Regions from separate parts of the Homo sapiens genome. Here region 2 is linked to region 1. Evidence: promoter capture Hi-C in human tissues and cell types (Jung and others, 2019). All regions are on one chromosome and are shown on one strand. Each heading gives the region's core, a stretch centred on a gene start or on the middle of the fragment in contact. The rest is flanking DNA. Distances are from core to core; before and after follow the strand shown. Region 1 holds the start of SNX13 (sorting nexin 13). Region 2 overlaps HDAC9 (histone deacetylase 9).

Region 1 (4,857 bases), core at 670-3,169:
CACACAAAAAGTACTAAAGTACAGTTTACTTAATATTATCATTGATTTACTGTTTAAAATATTTCCCTAAAACGCAAAATTGCATTAAAATACAGAAGCTGAGAAAGCTCCATCTTTCCAAATCATTTTACTGGCAGACACACAAGTAGTTCATTTGAAAGTATTAAAACTCTGAAACATGTTAACATAAGCTAAGTTTAAGGAAAAGATCATATCATATAATATTACACATTAGAGACAACACTAAACACTTATTATAAGGCTAACTGTTCCCACTAAAATATCACACTTAAGGTAAAAATGAAACTTCTGCTACTTATAACTCTTTTTTCTAATCTATTACTGCTAATCACAACACAAACTTATGCTATAACCATAATCTCAATTAACTCCAAGAATGAAAAATCTGTAGAATTTAGAAATATAAAATGAACTTCAAACAACTAAAAATACGTACTGTAGAAGTTACAATCAACCAGTAAGTATTTATCATATGCCAGGCTCTGTGCTTAGATTAAGTACAAACAGCAAAGTATAAAGTTCCTCAAAGTTAGTCACGTTCCAAGGACCTGAAATTTCAGGCAAGTACGTGCTTTACCATCACTTTTCACAAAATAAAAGCCACTCACCTACAAATGTTTGTATTTCCTTTTTGGCCCATGTAGGAATACTTCCCATTGCCCACTAAAACTGTTTCCTATTCAGTTCAGCCCATAAAAATGCCCAATCCGGTCAGTTCCTCACGTCAGGATCCTCACAGTACTTAAAGTGAAAGGCTTCGAAAAAGGTATTTCATCAAATCACAAGGTTCAGTATTTTATGTTCAGTGACACCTACACCTGCAGATACTACAACACATAACTGGGCTAACCTGGGTCAAGTACCTAGTTGCACCGATTTAGTTCTTCCCCTTAAAGTGTTGCTAGTAAAGGCAAACTCTACTTCTTCAAAAAGTCGGCTTTTTGCAATGCCCATTAGGCACTAGAAAAGGGAAATTGATTGGTTCGTCATAGTTGCCCTACTTCCATTTCAGGTCCAAAGAAAAAAACTATTCCATAGGGAGTAACAAGGGGGCCACACGCAAATCAAGGTGGCAGATGCTAAACTGAACTTTGTGATGACCACGATTTAACCGAAAAGGTGATGGATGTGGGGGAGGGGGATGACCCAACTGAGCCATACATGTGCAGCTTGAGATAAAAAAGTCCACTTCATGAAGCAGTCAAAGTAGAGGGTGGGAAACAAACCGGTCGGGCCGAGCAACAACCCCAGGGTGCTGACCGAGCTCGGAGGCGGAGGGCCCTGGAGCCCAGGGACCAGAGAAAGGAGACCTAGGGCAAACCATAGGATCACAAGAACCAGCAGTAACGTGGAAAGGCCAACGCTGCCACAGAGTAGCGTGTAAGGGGACACGAAGAAGGGAGCGATGAGTTAGAAGGGAGTGACAGCAGGAGGGAGACCAGTGCCAGGGGCGAGTGGCAAGTGGCAACTGCGAAAGGCGAGGCACTGGCAGCCGGAGGTGGTGGGACTCTGTTGAGTCAGCACAGCTCCTACTCTGAGGGCACTTGTAGGATCCCCGCTGCTCCTCGGGCCCTGGAGCCCACGGCGAAGGGTCAGGCCCACCTTCCGTACAGATGATGTTCTCTGACGGGCTGGCGCCGGCCCCTTCCCCATTTCACAGGTAAACACTGGCCACCGTCGCCGCTTACCTCAGTTAACATTATTACACCCCGGGGAAGTGAGGTCCTCCCTAGCCTCGCCTCATGGCAACAGCCGTAGCAGCAGCGAAAACTGCTCGGGCCGCCGCCAACGGCGGCAACTGCTCCTTCAGTCTTCTCCCGGGCGGCGGTTTTACTCGGCTTCGCTGGCCTCCCCTCGGCCCGGTCGCTCGCGACGGACGCGCCGCCATCTTGGAAGAGCGACGTCCGCGTCTCGCTGCAACGTGCGTTCCCATTGGCGGGCGCAGGGGCTGCTGGCGTCTCGTGACCGTCTCCATAGCGCCGGCGCGCGGAGAAGCGGAGGTAGGCTGTCGGCAGTCGGCTTGGCGCTGACTTGTAGGACCCCGGGACCGGGCGCCTGGGCCAACTTGGGACCGCTGGGAGTGCAGAGGGGCCCCAGCGCCCGAGCCTTCCGGGAATGGACGTGCGCGCCCTTGGGGCCGGCGCATCATCCACCGCCCACTAGCGTTGGCCCGCCCTGGGGAGAGGAGAAAATGCCAGAGGCCGACACTTGACTGATGGCGCTGCGGACCTCGCTGGTCTTGGGGACAAGGCGGCAGATTTCCTTTAGAAAAACTTCCCTCTCGCGTCTCCCTGGCCCCGCGGCGACCGAAGAGTTGGGGTTCGGCTTTCTTCTCCTGGGATTTAAGTGTTATTTGAAACAGCTCCCTGCGCGGCCCTTTTCTCCTAAACTTTGACAGAAACTTCCCTTTGTCCCTACCAATCCTCAGTGAGTTCTTTACAGGGGTCCGAGACAGGTTGTAGATATGATGCGGCTTATCGGCTTTACCCCGATCCTAGCGGAGTTAGGACTTGCTGATGTAATTGGCCAGCACCTGCCTAACAATGAAGGTTTAGTTATGCTACAAGTAATGCACCTCTAAAAAAACGTAAAACAGGCTTTACGTTTTACCTGCTATCTCCACAGGTTTACTAGCTGCTTAATACAATATGCTTGTATATCAAGGTGAGCAAATTTCAGCAAATGTCATTGTAAATAGTCCCAACTTAAATGGAATTGAACTCTGGAACTCAATGTGCATAGAAGTCCCTGAGACTGACGCCATTCTAGATCTACCACTAGATGGTTTGCGATGTACGGAATTAAAGGCAGTCACTTCTACCTGAATTGTGATGAAAGTAGTTTACCTGAACATGCTGGGAAAGTGTGCTACCCTGTTTTGTATTAGAAACCAGTTTCCAAGTAAATTGAAAAGCAAATTTTCAGACTTGACATTAAAAACACCTCCATGTCATTCTTACAAGAGGTACAAAAGCATTTTAGAAAACTAAAGCCAGGAGTTTCTTCCCTTTTACCAGAATCTTTTCCCTCCATTTAACAATAGTACTGTTGTGCTAAATGAAATTTACTTAATGTATTACTCTTACAGTCTCAAAACAATAAGGGCATTGCAAACCTTGTATTATCTCTATCGTGTCAAGGAAACAAAACGGTTCATTTAAGCAGTCATGCAAAAAATTCAAGAAAAACTGATTTTGCTCAATTCAACTAATTGAAGCAAAGTAGTTTTTCTTGTTGTTTTAATCTGCATTTTGTACATCATTTCCACATTGCTGGACCAGCAAAATTCTGACCTCTGCAATACAATAAAATGTGTTACTGGTATTGACAGATGAAGCCACAAATAGAAAATGAGCATGGAAATCCTACCTGGACTGAGGTATCAAAGGATACCAAGAGATACTAGAGACAACAAGGAACCTGGAAAAAGATAGTGTTCCAACCTGTAAATAAGAAAACAGAGAAGGAGGTTCATTAATATTTAAGATACCAGCTAGTAAATTAAAACAGCAATGTAGTTGTCTGGCTTGAGTATTCAGTTTTATTTACTACATCTTTTTATCTTTTCTAGAAGCAAGGCATTAAGTGTTGACACTTGAGTATTGAACCAATCTGTGATATGACATGAATATGCCTTTAACTTTCAGAAGTTTGTCTACAGACTTACAAGGAAACCAAAAGTAGTCGCTCTTCCAATGGCTTCCTAATTTTCTCAGCCTGAGTCTTTTCTGCAACCTAAAAATCCTATGCTAGCTGGCCTCCCAAGTCCTACCTCACCTCCACCCCTCTGACCTCATTTCTGCTAAGCACTTTGTTCCAGTTACACAGACCTGCTCCCTGCTTCTGTAACACCAAGGCATCTTCTTGCCCTGAGGCCCTTACACTGTGTATAGTTTCTATCTGCAAAGATCTTTCCACCAAATACCTGCATGGCTAGATCTTCCACTTCTGTCCAATCTTTGCTTAAAAGTCATCTTTTTTCAAAGAAGCCTACCCTAATCATCTCATTTAAAATATTGCCCCTTCCCCAGAATCCTCCCTTCCTTGCTTCTGTTTTTTTCATAGTACTTACCTTCTAACCTTCTAACATCGTCATTTTCTATTTTTATTTTCTATTGCCTTCCCTCCGCTAGAATGTAAGCTCCACAAGATCGGGGATTTTTTTTTTTTCATTTTGTTCAATGTTTCCTTAGTACCTAAAATACTAGAATAGTAGATGGCACAGAGTAGATGCTCAATAAATATTTCTTAAGTGAATAAATGAATGGGTGAATCATTGCCTAAAAGACACTAAAAGGAAAAGACCTAATTAAAACTATTTAAAAACAAAATCCTTGGTGTTGAAAGATTAAATTATTTAAAAGTTGGCCATTGTGTGTTCTCTTGTCTTCCAATTAATAGGAACATCACTTCTGCCACTGGAATGTTGAAGTGTATGACAATTGTTACTTCCACTAGAATGCTACAGAAAAGTTTAGGACAAAATTGTGAGCTATGCCTTTTCCTTCACCTTTTTTCTTTTCCTTTTTTTAAATTTGTTGTAGAGATGTGTTCTCACTATGTTGCCAGACTAGTCTCTGGACTCCTGGCCTCAAAGATCCTCAGGCTTTGACCTCCCAAAGTGCTGGGATTGCAGGAATGAGCCACCACACCTGGCCTCCTTCACTTTCTTAAATACATCTTGGGCATGAGTCAAAGTTAATTTCCTAGGAAGGGAAGCAACAAAGCGAATAAGGTATACTATTTAAGAGACTTACGGAAATTAAGGAGTTATATAGTTGGAAAAGAGAATGCTTATAGAAACAGCTAGCTTAAAAAAAAAAAGCACCTAATTTG
Region 2 (4,857 bases), core at 1,148-3,647, 640 kb after region 1:
AGATGACCAGCAAGGACATTTAAGTATATGAAGCCTTAACATCTGTAGACAGGATTTCTGTTAGCCTTTTTTTACTCACTGAAAATAACTCTTAAATTCACATGGAAAATTAACTTTGTAGTTCCCAAACTGGAATCTGCAAATTTAAGTTAGTTACTTATAGTAATAGAGCATTAGATGCAATTTGGAAAAATACAGAAAAGTAAAGGGAGAATCATTCATATTTCCGTCTAAAATACAGCCATCTTCTGTTCTCTACATCACCAGTCATTGCTATTAGAATTTAAAAACTAATATGATTTAAAAACCGTGGTAGAATATGTGCTCGATAAGGGCTGGAATTTTTGTCTTTCTTTAAAATACCAAACCCCAACATCTAGAATGAAGCCTGGGACTTTAAGAGGCTTGATAAATCTATTTTGACTACATTGCTTATATATATATATATTTTTTAAATGGTTATCATAGTGTAAATATCACTTTTTTCACTTAATGTGACAACTTTTTTAATGTTCCCACAAACATTATTTTTAATGAATGCGTAGCTTTTCTACCAAATGGATGCGACATATTTTGCTGAGACATTTCCTTGTAGTTGGTGATTTCAATAACAATACTAGAACTCTAGTAAATAATACGACATTGAACTGTTTTTTTCCCTATTCAGTATTGTCTCCTGGAGATATAATCCTAGAGTTGGCAAACCTGAATCAAATGGTAGAAATATGTAACACTTCTTGATACGTATTACCAAATTGGTTTTGCATAAGTTTTGTACCAATTGACAGCTCCACTTGCCATAAATAATCGTCTCTTTGGTCATACGCTTAGCCTATACAATGGGGCATTGTACACATATATGTATACACGTGGGTCATATATATGATAATAATCAATGATGCTCTATTTTGATTCATAATTTGCAATTCTTTACTAGTGAAGGTGATTTTCAGTTGTTGCATTCTTTTATTTGTTTTGATCTAGATGTTTTAGTATTTTTATTTTCTAATGTTTAGTAGAAATTGTGTGCCATTTTATTTTTATATTTGTTTCTAATATGTTTGTTTTGTTAGCTACTTACTATTGATGGTTTATTTTAATATATAAGAAATTTCCATTTCATATAATAAAAAAGCAAAAACAAACATCTGTTAAGGGCTGTGCTACATGCTATTAGTACTTACTGTTACTATCTCCAAGTTACGGATGAGGGAACAGAGGCCTAGGGAAATTAATAACATCTTCAATGTTACACACATGAAAGAGTCAAATAAGCATTTAGATTATAGAACAGAATTTGAAAACTGGTACATGTAAAGACTGAAGCATTTTGTTTGGTTCCTGGAGTATTTAAAGCTTTTGAAGAGCCTGGTGCTGTGACTCATGCCTATAATCTCAGAACTTGGGAGCTCAGGCAGGAGGATCACTTGAGGTCAGGAATTCAAGACCAGCCTTCGCGACATAGCAAGATAATACCCCAGCTCCCACTGCCCTGACCCCAGCTATAAAAAAAAAAAAAAGAAAGAAAAATTTAGCTGGTCATGGTGATATGCACCTAAAGTCCCAGATACTTGGGAGGCTGAGGCAGAAGGATCCCTTGAGCCAGGAAGTTCTAGACTGCAGTGAGCTATGATTGCACCACTGCACTACAGCCTGGACGAAAAAGTGAGCCCTCCAGCAGCCTAAAAAATCTTTCAGTTTAATTTTCAGTTAACAGTTATTTCTGTCTACACTGGATCTGTATTTTCTTTTTCTCCCACAACTCCCACAAATAGTTGGTTTTATCTGAGTAGTGACTGGCCTCTTTTGAAAAGCCATGCAATCCAGTTTGCCACAGTTTCCCCTCCAAAATTCCTGTTGTCTTTAGCTTAACCTTTTACACTGAACTACAGAATTTTCCCGATTCTTGTGGGTAAGGGTCATACTCAAAATATTTAACAACCAGTTTGGCATGGATGCTGGTCATTCAAAATGTCAGAATGGACACCAACAATAAATAAATGGTACACCTGGATATCCTGTCTGTGAGTTTTCCTGCTTAAACTATTCCTTTAGAAAGCAGCATTCTTTTTTTTTTTTTTTTTTTTGAGACAGTCTCGCTCTGTCACCCAGGCTGGAGTGCAGTAGCGAGATCTCGGCTCACTGCAAGCTCCGCCTCCCAGGTTCACGCCATTCTCCTGCCTCAGCTGGGACTACAGGCACCCGCCACCACACCCGGCTAATTTTTTGTATTTTTAGTAGAGAAGGGGTTTCACCGTGTTGGCCAGGATGGTCTCGATCTCCTGACCTCGTGATCTGCCTGCCTTGGCCTCCCAAAGTGCTGTGATTACAGGCGTGAGCCACCGCGCCGGGCCCTGAAAGCAGCATTCTTATCTACTAAGAGTTTTTGCTAAGAATTTTATATCTATTATCTAATTTAATTTGTATAAATTTAAATATTATCATCTGTAGTTATTCTCAGATCATCAAATCTTTTTTACTCCAGTGGTTTGATTAAATACTTGTTTTAAGTTTCCTCATACTTTTTCCACCTTGTTTATTTTAGGAATGAGGTAGCTGAGATACAGATTATTACCAATTCAACATCAGGACTTAGAAACTTGGCTACTTTCACTCCTTGTTGTTTGGATCTGGCACCATTGCTGTGGTTAATTACCATTTTCCACATTTTAGCATGCAGTTGTCTATTCTGTCTTTGGTACATCCAATAGTGCTGCAAATACGTTATATTACAACCTTTACTTTGTAAAGTTGAAGATATCTTCTGACGCTGATTACAAAGGAAGATGTTCTTAAGTGTACAAATGTAGTCATGGTGGAAGTTCTCTCTTAGGGCATCTTTTCCTCAACATAATTCCATTTTTTTTTTTGTCCTCGTTGACTTGATTTTTGTTAGTGGTTCAGTAGAATAAGTTTTATGAATGACTGATACCAGTAAACAATTGAAGTCACCTGTTTGTAAAAGGAAATTGTGGAGGATTCATGGCAGAGTGCAAATTGCTGAATGAAAATTAGCCTATGGCCCATTTATCAAAACTAATGTACAAATGACTTTATATCATCATTGTAAAGAAATGGCTAGAGTCATTGGCATAAAATTTGTTGTACAGGGTCTTATACTTTTTATTTGTTTCCAAATCAATGTGCTAATTTCCAATCTTCTATTACCCTCCCCCACCCCATTTCCCTTTTTTTCTGGTTCTTTAGTGGATGTGAAGTCAGAAGTTCCTGTGGGCCTGGAGCCCATCTCACCTTTAGACCTAAGGACAGACCTCAGGATGATGATGCCCGTGGTGGACCCTGTTGTCCGTGAGAAGCAATTGCAGCAGGAATTACTTCTTATCCAGCAGCAGCAACAAATCCAGAAGCAGCTTCTGATAGCAGAGTTTCAGAAACAGCATGAGAACTTGACACGGCAGCACCAGGCTCAGCTTCAGGAGCATATCAAGGTAGCAAATGCTTCTTTGTCTGTGACCTTACTCAGGAGTCTGCACCGTGGTGGGCATGAACAGTGCCCATGGGAACACTTTGCGGGTAGATTCACTGTGATTAAGACATGGATATATGGCTTGAAGGGAATTGTGATTTTACTAGTGAAAACTTTGGGTAAGTACCTGTTAAAAACCTGTTTTGCTTCTCAGAGGGACCTTCTTTATCCTTTAGCACATAGAATCAATAGCAGGGAATAGTAACTTCCTATCCTAATTTTAGATTCTCTCCTACGTGATTTTGTTCATTTGCCCCATCTGCTCTCCACCAAGAAGAAGCATGAGCCTAGAAGACCCATTTCATATTTCATTTCTGAAGAGTCTACATGTACTATTTGTGAGAAAGGATAAATTAGTCACCTTATATGAAGAGAGCTGTTTTTAAAAAACAAACATGGTGTATAAGTAGATGTTCTGAGTATGTCCGACTCTTCCTTATAGAAAAGATCTCATAATGTACACATTCAAAATAATAGTATAATAAAAAGCTTAAGGGAGTTATAAATGGAGAAACTGGTGCAAATGTTTTTATAGACTGTAGATAAGAATTTATTGAAAGTATTTGGGAGTAGTTGACAATTTGAGACTAAAGTTGTTTAAATTATTTTAGCACAAATATATCCATATTCCAGAATTTTTAATAATAACTTATTTTATTATCTAATAATATTAGATGTGTCTGTTTTTTTAAATTTTGTATCTTCAGAGATAAATATTACTTTAGCTTTATTTGTAAAACATCTTGCAACTTCTTGACAAAGACAGTTGAAACAAGGCTATTTAATTTGAATTTATTGTGACAGAAAAGCAGCAAAGATTTACAACAAAAATTTTATTTTTATATCTAACTTTCAAAGATGACAAACACTTGCTAATTTGTGAATGTAATAAATTATGTTATCTCATACTTTATTGTTTTGTATTATAGGAACTTTATTACTTGCATATCAAGTACAAGCACATTGATAGAGGGTTGATACAGATAACTGATGTTACTAGTATGTAATTTTACCACATTAATATGACAGTTTCTAAGGAAGTAAAAATGCTATCTTCTTCTCTATATTACTTGGTTTACAAGATGTTTCTTAATCCTAAAAGAACTTTATTATCGTATATTCCTAAAAAGGCTCTTTGACAAGTGATATAAAATATATTTATTTCTTTTAGTAGTGAACTTTCCAAAAAGAACTCTTGTATATTATTGATGTACAAAATACCTTAAAGTGAGAGTATTTTCTTTTGTCCCAAATGGAATCAGTAGCTCATGGCTACATTTTGAAGTATGGGTAGCCTTTCTTTAGTTTTTAGACTTATTTTTGAATGAATACTGAAGCTTTATTTAAATTTGACCTTTGAAACAATAATA

What was found. The method cuts DNA at HindIII sites, captures the fragments that hold promoters and counts their contacts. A contact is called where the count stands out against the background at its distance.
Region 2: a contact is called between a fragment that was not itself captured here and the fragment with the promoter of SNX13 in region 1, in 1 of the 25 tissues and cell types used here (dorsolateral prefrontal cortex).

Annotation. Positions count from the first base shown.
Region 1 is chr7:17,938,575-17,943,431 of GRCh38, forward strand. It overlaps SNX13 (sorting nexin 13), which reads right to left and starts at 1,920. Exons shown (of 26, transcript NM_015132.5): 1 at 1,710-1,920. The coding sequence starts at 1,721. The HindIII fragment of the contact is 14,565 bases long and covers 1-4,857 here.
Region 2 is chr7:18,582,074-18,586,930 of GRCh38, forward strand. HDAC9 (histone deacetylase 9) reads left to right here. Exons shown (of 26, transcript NM_178425.4): 3 at 3,208-3,449. Among named protein-coding and RNA genes, the nearest start is that of HDAC9, 89 kb to the left of the region's middle. The HindIII fragment of the contact is 4,006 bases long and covers 395-4,400 here.